Regions from separate parts of the Homo sapiens genome. Here region 2 is linked to region 1. The links are contacts of gene promoters, found by promoter capture Hi-C in blood cells and fetal thymus (Javierre and others, 2016). All regions are on one chromosome and are shown on one strand. Each heading gives the region's core, a stretch centred on a gene start or on the middle of the fragment in contact. The rest is flanking DNA. Distances are from core to core; before and after follow the strand shown.

Region 1 (5,463 bases), core at 1,692-4,191:
AAAGTGCTGGGATTACAGGTGTGAGCCACTGCGGCCCACCTGCATTGTTATTTTGAATGTATTTTCTCATAGTGTCAGATAAAGCAAGTAATTGTATTTTTGTGTTTAGGAAGCAAGGTTTTTATTACAGGAGAAAAGGAGATGCTATGATAGAATCGAGGATTTCAGAAGGAATTGTTCTGTTAGAAGTGGATTGAGAATGTCAATGTGAACTTGTATCTTTTATGAAAAAATTATTTTAAATGCCATCTTTCTAAGTTCTGTCCGCTGAAACGGCTTATGAGGAGCCCCACGATGCCTCCTGCTGCCAAAATTCTGGTCTCCAGTACTATTTTTCCAGAAAAACAAAAACAAAAGTATCAGCACTTCTAGGAGAAAAGGCTCATTCTATGTCTCAGGCAGAAAATTACAAGAGGAGCCTGGAATATCTTGTGCCAGAAAACAAGATGTTCAGACATTCATAGAAATGACAAGACTCGGCTGCTTATCTAAGAGGGGCCCCTCCTGGTCACAACTGAGACAATTTGAGGATCAAAGGAGAATATTGGCTGAGACTGATTGATGTACAGCAAATCTGAAATGTCCCATGTCCATAATGATACATAAAAGAGTTAACAAAGTGTTCTAAAAGTAAGTGGATTGCATAGATGATATTTCTGTTCATTGTCAATCATGTTGGTATTATCGACTCACTTATTGTATGGTTAAATAATAAAGAAGCTAGTACTAGTAAAACCAGGAAAACAATCTAATGTAATGATTAGTAGGCATTTCCTAACATAAAATTAGTAGAATGACCCTCTAAGTTGTGATTATGATCCTGAAACTACCTATTAAAAATACATGTGCAACCTCTATCAACTTCTATCAGGTTCTAGGTTTTAAAAATCACATTTCTTAGGATCTCATGAGGCTCAAAGCTAAAGAGTTAGAAAGGAAAAGCATTTATGTATATTAACAGCACATTAACAGCTAAAAAGAAAAACTCACATAATCATATTAGTTCATAGAAACAATGCATTTGACATACTCCAACATCCATTCATGATTTTATTTTATTTTTTATTTATATATTTTTTTTGAGATGGAGTCTCGCTGTCACCCAGGCTGGAGTGCAATGGCTCGATCTCGGCTCACTGCAGGCTCCGCCCCCGGCGGTTCACGCCATTCTCCTGCCTCAGCCTCCCGAGTAGCTGGGACTACAGGCGCCCGCCACCTCGCCCAGCTAATTTTTTGTATTTTTAGTAGAGACGGGGTTTCACCGTGTTAGCCAGGATGGTCTCGATCTCCTGACCTCGTGATCCACCCGCCTCGGCCTCCCAAAGTGCTGGGATTACAGGCGTGAGCCACCGTGCCCGGCCCATGATTTTAAAAAAACCTCTCAGAAATAGAAACAGAGGGAACTTCCTGAATTTGATTAAAAATACCTGCAAAATCCTAGAGCTAATATTATACTTAATGGTGAAAGACTGAATGGTTTTCCCCTAAGATGGAGAACAAGGCACGGATGTCCTTGCTCACCACTCCTATTCAACAAAGGACTGGAAACCAGAAATAACTTTAATTTTTTTTGTTCTCAAGTGATAGGTTCACAGAGAAAAAGCTTTACTGGATGAACTTTTAGATTACTACTTTTATAGAGCAGCAGAGATAAAAGCCAGGTCGAAAAGTGCATGTGGAGTAAGGAAATGGACCTAGTTCGACAAAAGGGCTCAGAACGACTGCCCAGATGAGATTGTAGACGCAGCTGTAGTTTACTTTCTATCTGGAAGAAACTTCAAGTTATCCTTAATTTTCCAAGGAGACAGTCACTTACCTTTTAAAAAACATTATTAGAGAAGCACCGGGCGGGAGCATATCTAGCATTAAAAATGTGGGATGAATACCATCTCTGCTTGGTAAAGGTGGTTGGGAATCCTGAGAGAGGGCACCTAGTGTGGCTTCTGCATTTTTCACAGTGCCTGGACCACGGCTGAAAGTAACTCTTGCATGACATTTGACAGAAGAGGAAACCGAAGCTCAGATTAAATTCCCTGTCCACAGCGGGATCATTCGGCACGAGTTCCTCCCTGTCTGGAATGCTCTTCCCCAGCAATAGATCCTGCGGCTCTTCCGTGTCTCAGTCTAATGTCATTCCGTTCCAGGATTCCCGACTTCTTAAAGCATAAATAATCCCTCCCCACCCTCTCATTGTACTGTTATGTAAGTTATTACAATATGTCATTATATATTTAGTCATACTGCTTTAGGTAATGTCTTCTCCACTGAACTGTAAGCTCCATGAGGGCAAGAGTTCAGTCGGTTTTACTTAATAATTAGCACCTAGTACAGTACTAGCATAGAATGAAGGCCTCGCAATTTTTTTTAAATTTATTTTTAGACAGGGTCTTGCGCTGTCGCCCAGGCTGGAGTGCAGTGGTGCAACCTCGGCTCACGGCAGCCTCGACCTTTCGGCTCCAGCGATCCTCCCGCGTCGGCCTCCGGGGTAGCTGGGACTGCAGGCGCGCACCACCATGACTGGCTAATTTTTTTTTTTTTTTTTTTGTAGACATGGGGTCTCGCCATGTTGCCCAGGCTGGTTCCTGAGCTCAAGTGATCCTCCTGCCTCGGCCTCCCAAAGTGCTGGGATTACAGGCGTGAGCCTCAGCGCCCAGCCAAGTTAGCCTTTTTTAAACGTCCTGTCTCCGGAGGTTGCCGAAGTTGGTTTTCTTCGGCCTCCTTCTCTCTCCCAGGCCCAGGGCTGGGACGAGGCCGGTTCCCGCCTGCAACCTGCACTGAAGACGGGAACCTTGGGAGCCGGTACCGGAACGCTCGGAAACGGCACCAAAGTACGAATCCTAGGGCGGAAAAGCGTTACCAAGACACTCGTCCCCAGAGCCGCTTCCTGGGACTCTCTAGCCTCCTACCGCTTCTCAGTGATGTTCCGGTTTCCGCCCTCCTCCTCGCGCTGTTTCCGCCTCTTGCCTTCGGACGCCGGATTTTGACGTGCTCTCGCGAGATTTGGGTCTCTTCCTAAGCCGGCGCTCGGCAAGGTAGGTTGGCGGCCTGCTCTCCGACAGAACTTTTCTTCTTGGGTTGAGGAAAACGCCTTTTGGAGTCAGGCCCTGGAGGGGCGAGCCTTGCTCACAGGGTGGGGATACAGCCGATTACCCGCCCTGTGCTTTCCGATGGCTTCTGCGGGGCGAGCGGGGCCTGGCCGGGGGGTGCGGGCGGGAGGGCGAGCCAGCGGCGCCTGCAGCCCGGGCCGCGTAACGCTGACCGCTGTGCCTTCAGTTCTCCCAGGAGAAAGCCATGTTCAGTTCGAGCGCCAAGATCGTGAAGCCCAATGGCGAGAAGCCGGACGAGTTCGAGTCCGGCATCTCCCAGGTGAGAGGGTTTCCCTGGGGTCTGGGGTGGGGGGAGGCGCCCCGCCCGGGAGGGGAGGCGGCCGCGCGTGTGTTGGGCCCGGGGTGCTCGGACGCGCGCTCAGGGTCGGTCCTGCTGTTCGTTGCTTCTTAGGCTCTTCTGGAGCTGGAGATGAACTCGGACCTCAAGGCTCAGCTCAGGGAGCTGAATATTACGGCAGCTAAGGTAAGCTGGCGCTCCCTCGGCTGGGAGGGAGGTTGCGGCGCGTCTCCCCGCGCAGTGCCTGAGAGGGTTGGACCTGGGTTACGGTTGATGATGACTTGCCGCCTGGCCGCCTAACCTGAACTCAGGTTCGGCCGTGTTGTTTGGGAGTGATACCGCCCAGGTGCGGGGAGTGGGGTTGCAGGTACCCTGCGGCTTAAGCTGTCCACATGCGGGCGGTGGAGAAACGTGGAGTAGGGAGGGCCTGGGCCCATTTCGGACCTTATTTGCCCTTACTTAGTTATAGATACGGCAAAGAGCTGTGGGGAGCTCAGGATGAGATTCTCTCTACCCTTAGCCCGGAGTTGCCGCAAGTGGGGGTGCAGAAGTGGTAGTGATTGGCCTCCTGGCCTGAACAGTCTCCCTTCCTGGAATAAGGAAATGTGAAGGTTGGAGAGAGATGAGAACATTTCCGAAGGATGCATTTATGATTAACTCAAAACTAGTATTAGTTTGTAGTGCAGCTACGGTGTTAGTGATAAGGTCTTCTTATCCTCTAATTTGACCACAACGTTTACTTTCTGAAGCAGTTAACACAGTGGATTTTTGTTTTTTTCTTTAGGAAATTGAAGTTGGTGGTGGTCGGAAAGCTATCATAATCTTTGTTCCCGTTCCTCAACTGAAATCTTTCCAGAAAATCCAAGTCCGGCTAGTACGCGAATTGGAGAAAAAGTTCAGTGGGAAGCATGTCGTCTTTATCGCTCAGGTATCTGTTCTACTGTTGCAGCACGTTTCTGTTTGTGAATTTTGCTAAAATTGCTTGTATTTAGACTGCATTGGTAGTTGGAGTCATGAAAACAATCCTTTTATGAATCCAATTGGGTAGAAAGATAAAGTACAGGCAGAGCGCCGTGGCTTAGGCCTGTAATCCCAGCACGGGGAGGTGGAGGCGGGTGGATCACTGTAGAGACCAGCCTGGGCAACATGGTAAGACCCTGTCTACAAAAAATAGAAAAAATAAGTTTTAAAAAGAAAGATAAAGTACGTTCTTTAATTAAGAGTCGAAACAAGAAGTCTGTAAAGTGACAGACTGCTGTGTTTTGAGTTATGAAAATGATTTCCCATATTTAAATTTCCACAAGTCTAGTGGGTTGCTTACATAGATGATCAAACTAAGAAACCTGTTACAGGCCGGGCCCTGTGGCTCACTCCTGTAATCCCAGCACTTTGGGAGGCTGAGGCAGGCGGATCACGAGGTCAGGAGATCGAGACCATCCTGGCTGACACGGTGAAACCCCGTCTGTACTAAAAAATACAAAAAATTAGCTGGGCGTGGTGGTGGGCGCCTGTAGTCCCAGCTACTCGGGAGGCTGAGGCAGGAGAATCGCGTGAACCCGGGAGGTGGAGCTTGCAGTGAGCCGAGATCCCGCCACTGAACTTCAGCCTGGGCGACAGAGCGAGACTCCATCTCAAAAAAAGAAGAAACCTGTTACAGTTCGGATGGGGGATTGGTGCAAACTGAAGTCTATGGGGAATGAAGTGCCAGGATTGATCTGGAATAAAAGTAGTATTCTGGGTCATAGGCATGGGGAAAGGCGTATCTGGGAGATTTTGTCCACTGGCGTATTAGTAGAGGCTGTGGATTCTGAATGATTTATTCAAGAATCAGGAAGTAACTCCATAGAAGGGTTTGCTCAGTCAATTGTTCGTCTAAGTTGTTTAGCCTTCTCGAACTTTGAACTTACCCTGCCATTCTTCTTGCTTTTAAAGCAGTATGGCAGTTACAGCTTTTTGTCAATTTAAAGTCTTTTTTCATTTTGTTACATGATAATTTTTACCTTACAGAGGAGAATTCTGCCTAAGCCAACTCGAAAAAGCCGTACAAAAAATAAGCAAAAGCGTCCCAGGAGGTGAGTA
Region 2 (5,370 bases), core at 165-2,664, about 12 Mb after region 1:
ATAGGATTCCAAAATGTTAGTGGCCAGGCACAATGGTATGTGCCTATAGTCGCAGCTACACGGGAGGCTAAGGCAGGAGGATTGCTTGAGCACAGGAGTTTAAAGCTACAGTGTACCATGATCTTGCCTGTGAATAGCCACTATACTCCAGCCTGACCAACACAATAAGACCCTCTCTTAAAAAAAAAAAAAAAATTAGTAATATACATGTAGTACATTTACGCTCATTTTTTAAAACACAAAATAATATCAAAAGACAGTTACAAAAATATAATGAAGATACAAAACATGTATGTGAATACTACCTATATGAGGATGATAATTTCCTCTAGAAGGGAAGGGAAAAGAAAAAGGGAAAGGACTTGAGATGTAACATTTTGCATAAAAACAAAAAGAGCTAGCTGATACAGGTTTATTATATTGTCAATAATTCTCAGTATGTTTATATTTCATAATTAAAAGAACTTTTTTAAAAAAAGAAGAAAAAGTCACTTGAAACAAATACTGACCCCAAAACCTTTGGGTTTAATTACCATAAACTCAAGAGCACAAATTGAACTATAATCTTTTTGAAAGCAGCATATCATGAGACAGATGAATCACTTAATGGTGCATTTGCAACCTGTACAATGATTCAAGGAAAAAGGCTTCTCAGGAGGAAGGGAGACAAAAAGATACCTACTTCTGATGCCTGATCATAAGGTTCTCACACAGAGGACAGGGCTTGTAGCAGAGTTAACTTTTTGAGTCTTCCTTCTCAATAAATAAAAAAAAGAATTATCAAGCAGCAACCTGAACAAGACAAGCTTGACACCTCATCCAAGGGTGTTCAGGACTAACAAGCTGTCGCCTAGAGAAGTCAGAAAACACAGCCCACCTCCCACACTCCTATCCTCTCCTTCCACTCTCTCTTCCTACTCATTGCTCTATCCTATCATATCCCACACCCACAAAAAAAGTGACACAATTAAGTATAGAAATTGTAAATATGCATACATATATACATGTATGCACATACACACACACATACATAGAGTAAAAGCAGAAAGACGTTGGAGCAAGTCCTAGAGAACGCCAAAGGTCTCTTTTATGGAACTATATTATCTCTGGAACTTTACGACAAGATATCCTCAACGAAGAAGCAATCTATGTAAATAATTCTATAAAACAATTCCTACACATGTATCTAAAAGCAGAATTATAACTTTTTTGTCATAATAATAATTTCTTTGTTCTTTCTAAAGCTGGAAATTAGCATCATCCCTGCAAATATACTTAACACTCAAGGAATTAAAAAATATACAAGAACTGAAACCTAAAGAACCTTCTCTGATATACAGCAGTTGAATATTAACCACAAGTGAGATGACATGACAAGAACAAAAATGTATTTTAAAAGATATGCAGGCTACAGATGCTTCATATGGACATTCAAGATAAGCCTGAGAATAGTCATCAGAGGAAGCAGAAATTGTCATGAGACATTCTTAATAGTAACTAAGGGAACAAAAACTACCCTAAGTCTACTGAGATATCTTGTCAGATTCTACCTAAATGTTTGAAATGTCTCATACTGAGTTTGCCTGAATGTCAGCAACTTTATCATGATCTAGAATTCAATTATGAAAACAAATCATATATAGAACAATATTGTTTATATTTGATGTTCATACTGTTTCTCTGAAGAACCGAAGACTCACCTGTACCAGATGTATTGGCGTAAAAATAATAAACGATCTGTAATCAAAAGAAATGGCAAAGCCAAATATAAATCAGCTGTTAAGAATCATTTTCAAATTAGATTTATAGATGAGAAATCTAAAATATACTACAGAGCGAGTCATTAAAAAAAATAAAGAACTCAAGTCTTAAAATGAGAGACTAAATATAACCTAATATACACTGTAACATTTACAGGGTCATATACTTATTAAATTCCATGTTTGTGTGTTATTCAAAAGTTTCAAGTATTTCCTAACTGTTCAAGAAATAAAAGCAGTTTGAGATGTTAAATTTAATCTAAGAAGCTTTCATGAAACCATGGACTAGAAGTTATAATAATCACCCCTTAGAAACCAAAATATTTGTATAAAAAATTAAAGCAAGATATATTTTACACTTTATAGCAAAGATTTTTAAAACAGTAATACCTAAAATGGGAAAGCCCACGGAAAACAAAACCTCTAACACGCTATAAAAAACAATGCTTTCTATCATCCTAAATGTACATGTATGTGTGTACCTGTGTATGCAGTTAGGTATATATCAATGGAAAAATATCTAAAGAATAACAGATTCTCTCTAGGTGGTATGAGGACAAATTTTTTTCTAATTTGTAGTTATCTATAGTGTCTGTATTTTCTACAATGAATTTTTATTATTTGTACACATTTTCTAAATTCTCAAAATTTAAAAGCATTTGTCATTATGAAAACTGAATATGCTAGTGCTTCTTGTATCAGAAGATAAAATTAACTATAATTAACTGTAATTTTATCAGAAGATAAAAGGATAATCAGAAGATTACAGTTAATTTCAAGTACTTAACTTCTGTGAAAATGAATTTTCTCTTTATAAGGAACTTAAATTCACTGGTATAAGGATGGACTTTGAAGCCAGAAAGACATGCAGTCAAATTCCAAATGAATGACCTTGAGCAAGTTTTCTTATCTAAAATCATAAAGGAGTAACGGCACCTTTCTGGTCTGATAAAAGGACTCTATTAATGAATATGGTAAACCCGTCATGGCACCAGCTCAGTAAACCTAGTGCTCAATCCTTTCTCAGACTCTTGTTAGTTCATACGTAAAATTTGTCAGGAGTTAAATGAATACCCTGGCTTATCAAATCTGTAATTTGAGTATCTCTGACCAGATCTATCTGAAACACCACATAGACCTCTTAAAATAGTCTCTCAGTGTATTTTCACCTTCAACATCCACTGACTTTCTGAGACTCATACTGGCTTTGACCTTCATTCCTTCTAGAACAGCGTCCCCCAACCTTTTTGGCACCAGGGACTGGTTTTGTGGAAGACAATTTTTCCATGCAACCTAGATCCCTCACACGTGCAGTTCACAATAGGGTTTGCACTTCCCTGATAATCTAATGCTGCCGCTTATCTGACAGGAAGTGGAGCTCAGGTGGTAATGCTCACTCACCCATCGCTCACCTCCTGCTATGCAGCCTGTTTCCTAACAGACCACAGACTGGTACCAGTCCATGGCCCAGGAATTGAGGACACCTGTTCTAGAATACATCCATAATGGTTAAACCAAAGCTATATACTTTAGCTCTAAGCTGCATTAGAGCTAAAAACGTGCATGCGTAAATATACAAATGTATACATATACATACATATGTGTGTATATATAAATATATATATAATTAAACTCAGATAACACACATTACTTTTATTAGGCTCCACATCAGAAGTCTAAAGAACACATTTTAACTGTTAACCATATCATTACTGTAGAGAAATAAGCTATATTTACCTCGAATTGCTTTCGTGATGATAAAGGATGCACCATGTTTTTGGTTGCCTCTAGGCTGGAATTTAAAACAAAAAACACTTACATTTGAATCTTCTAGTAGTATTAGACCAGTATTACTTATACAATATGTAAACTTATTTTTATTTACTAATACTCAGAGTTTTGGGCACAGGGAAGCAGTGTCTTAAAACTACTTAAAGACTGGATGTTCAGGTGCAGTGGCTCACGCCTGTAATCTCAGCACTTTGGGATGCCAAGGTGGGCTGACTGCTTGAGCCCAGGAGCTCCAGACCTGCCTGAGCAACGTGGCAAAACCTCATCTCTACAAAAAATACAAAAATTGGCCAGGCATGGCGGTGCATGCCTATAGTCCCAGCTACTTGGGAAGCTGAGGTGACCCAGGAGGTTGAAGCTACGAAGCTACAGTGAGCCCTGATCATGCCACTGCACTCCAGCCTGGGTGACAGAGTGAGACCCTGCCTCAAAAAAAAAAAAAAAAAAAAAAAAAGTAGACACAGGACGCGGGACAATAGGAGAAAAGTGAGCATAGCAGAGCTACAGGCACATGTCAGGACTAACCTTGCAGGAAAGAACAAGGATTGAAGCTGGAAACTGTTTCCAAATCAAAAACCAATCCAAAGACAAGAGAAGTCAAGGCCAAAGACCATACTGGTTGCCAGTTCAGCATACTCTATTGAGGCTGTAAGTTTTGCTCACAGGAAAAGTGGTCATATCTCCAAGGCCAATTCATTGACTATCTGTTGTGTATCTATACAGACAATGCTACTAACAAAACATACACAGATACGTAATTGCTATATTAAATAATTCCATTCCATAAGTATAGACTGAACACACCGTGGGTAGGTTCATGACGCTAGGCACTGCATAAGATGCACTAAAGTGCTGTCAAGAAAAGCACAATGGACATACAGTAAGTGTAGACAGATTTTTTTAAAAAACACAGAAAAGTTATTTCACTCAATAAACATGAATTGATTGTTGGATTCATGCAAGACACAATTTGGCCCTGGGAAGAGATATAAAGATGAATCAGATGTCTGCCCTCCAAGAGCTTATAATTCAACAGCTGAAATCAACAGAATGCAGAAATCGATAGAATGCAGAAATCAATTGAACTCCCCCACCCCCAACACACAAACACAAAACAAAGTGCTAAGGGTTTCAAAGTAAGTTAATTCTGTGGTTACTTTTTTGGAATCAATTTATGGTAAGCATTCTGAAACATTACTGCAATTAACCAATGAGTGTTAAGGAGTGGAAACTTATCTAACCAGCTGCCTCAGCAACAGCTTCCTAGCTGCATAACCCAAAAAATATTCACATTAAGACAAACTAAGTACTTGAAATTAAACAGTAATATATGCAGATCTCTACCCGTCTACAAAATAAATTATTCATGATAAGCACAAACTGCAGTGGGAAGGAGGCTACAGAGGAAAAAAATACAAACTTTGGGCTGAAAAATGAGTCGTTTCTCCAGCAAAGAAACACTCAGAAAAAATGTAAGATAACTCACATGGGCTGGACTACATAATCTTTAATAAAGGTTCTTTTCGATCTGGCTGCTTCCTCTGGGTCTAAAACAGTAACTGGCACGTGTTAAGCACTCAATAAATATCTGTTAAATAAACATGGATCCAAAAAATAATAATAATAAAAAATAAAATAAAATAAACATGGATCCATGGTTCCTACTCTTCATCACAGACCCGGGAGGCCTTCACTACCAAACAACTGATAATCCCAAGATCCAGTCCATAAATTATCAACCTCTATAACCCTTCTGTAGCGGAGATCCCAATCCCAGTCAGCAGCTCTTTACTCTGCACTTCCGTGGCATTTTGCTCAC

The links. The method cuts DNA at HindIII sites, captures the fragments that hold promoters and counts their contacts. A CHiCAGO score of 5 or more calls a contact.
Region 2: a contact is called between a fragment that was not itself captured here and the fragment with the promoter of RPS7 in region 1, in 1 of 17 cell types (monocytes). The highest score is 7.3, in monocytes.

What each region holds. Positions count from the first base shown.
Region 1 is chr2:3,572,319-3,577,781 of GRCh38, forward strand. It overlaps RPS7 (ribosomal protein S7), which reads left to right and starts at 2,942. Exons shown (of 7, transcript NM_001011.4): 1 at 2,942-3,032; 2 at 3,274-3,366; 3 at 3,499-3,570; 4 at 4,169-4,312; 5 at 5,392-5,456. The coding sequence starts at 3,292. LOC124907726 (a long non-coding RNA gene) reads right to left here and starts at 2,791. Exons shown (of 2, transcript XR_007086196.1): 1 at 1,817-2,791. RefSeq lists enhancers at 2,495-3,070, 3,071-3,647 and a silencer at 3,199-3,488. The HindIII fragment of the contact is 5,628 bases long and covers 1,602-5,463 here.
Region 2 is chr2:15,555,083-15,560,452 of GRCh38, forward strand. It overlaps NBAS (NBAS subunit of NRZ tethering complex), which reads right to left. Exons shown (of 52, transcript NM_015909.4): 2 at 3,498-3,552; 3 at 1,701-1,737. Among named protein-coding and RNA genes, the nearest start is that of NBAS, 3.6 kb to the right of the region's middle. The HindIII fragment of the contact is 1,221 bases long and covers 805-2,025 here.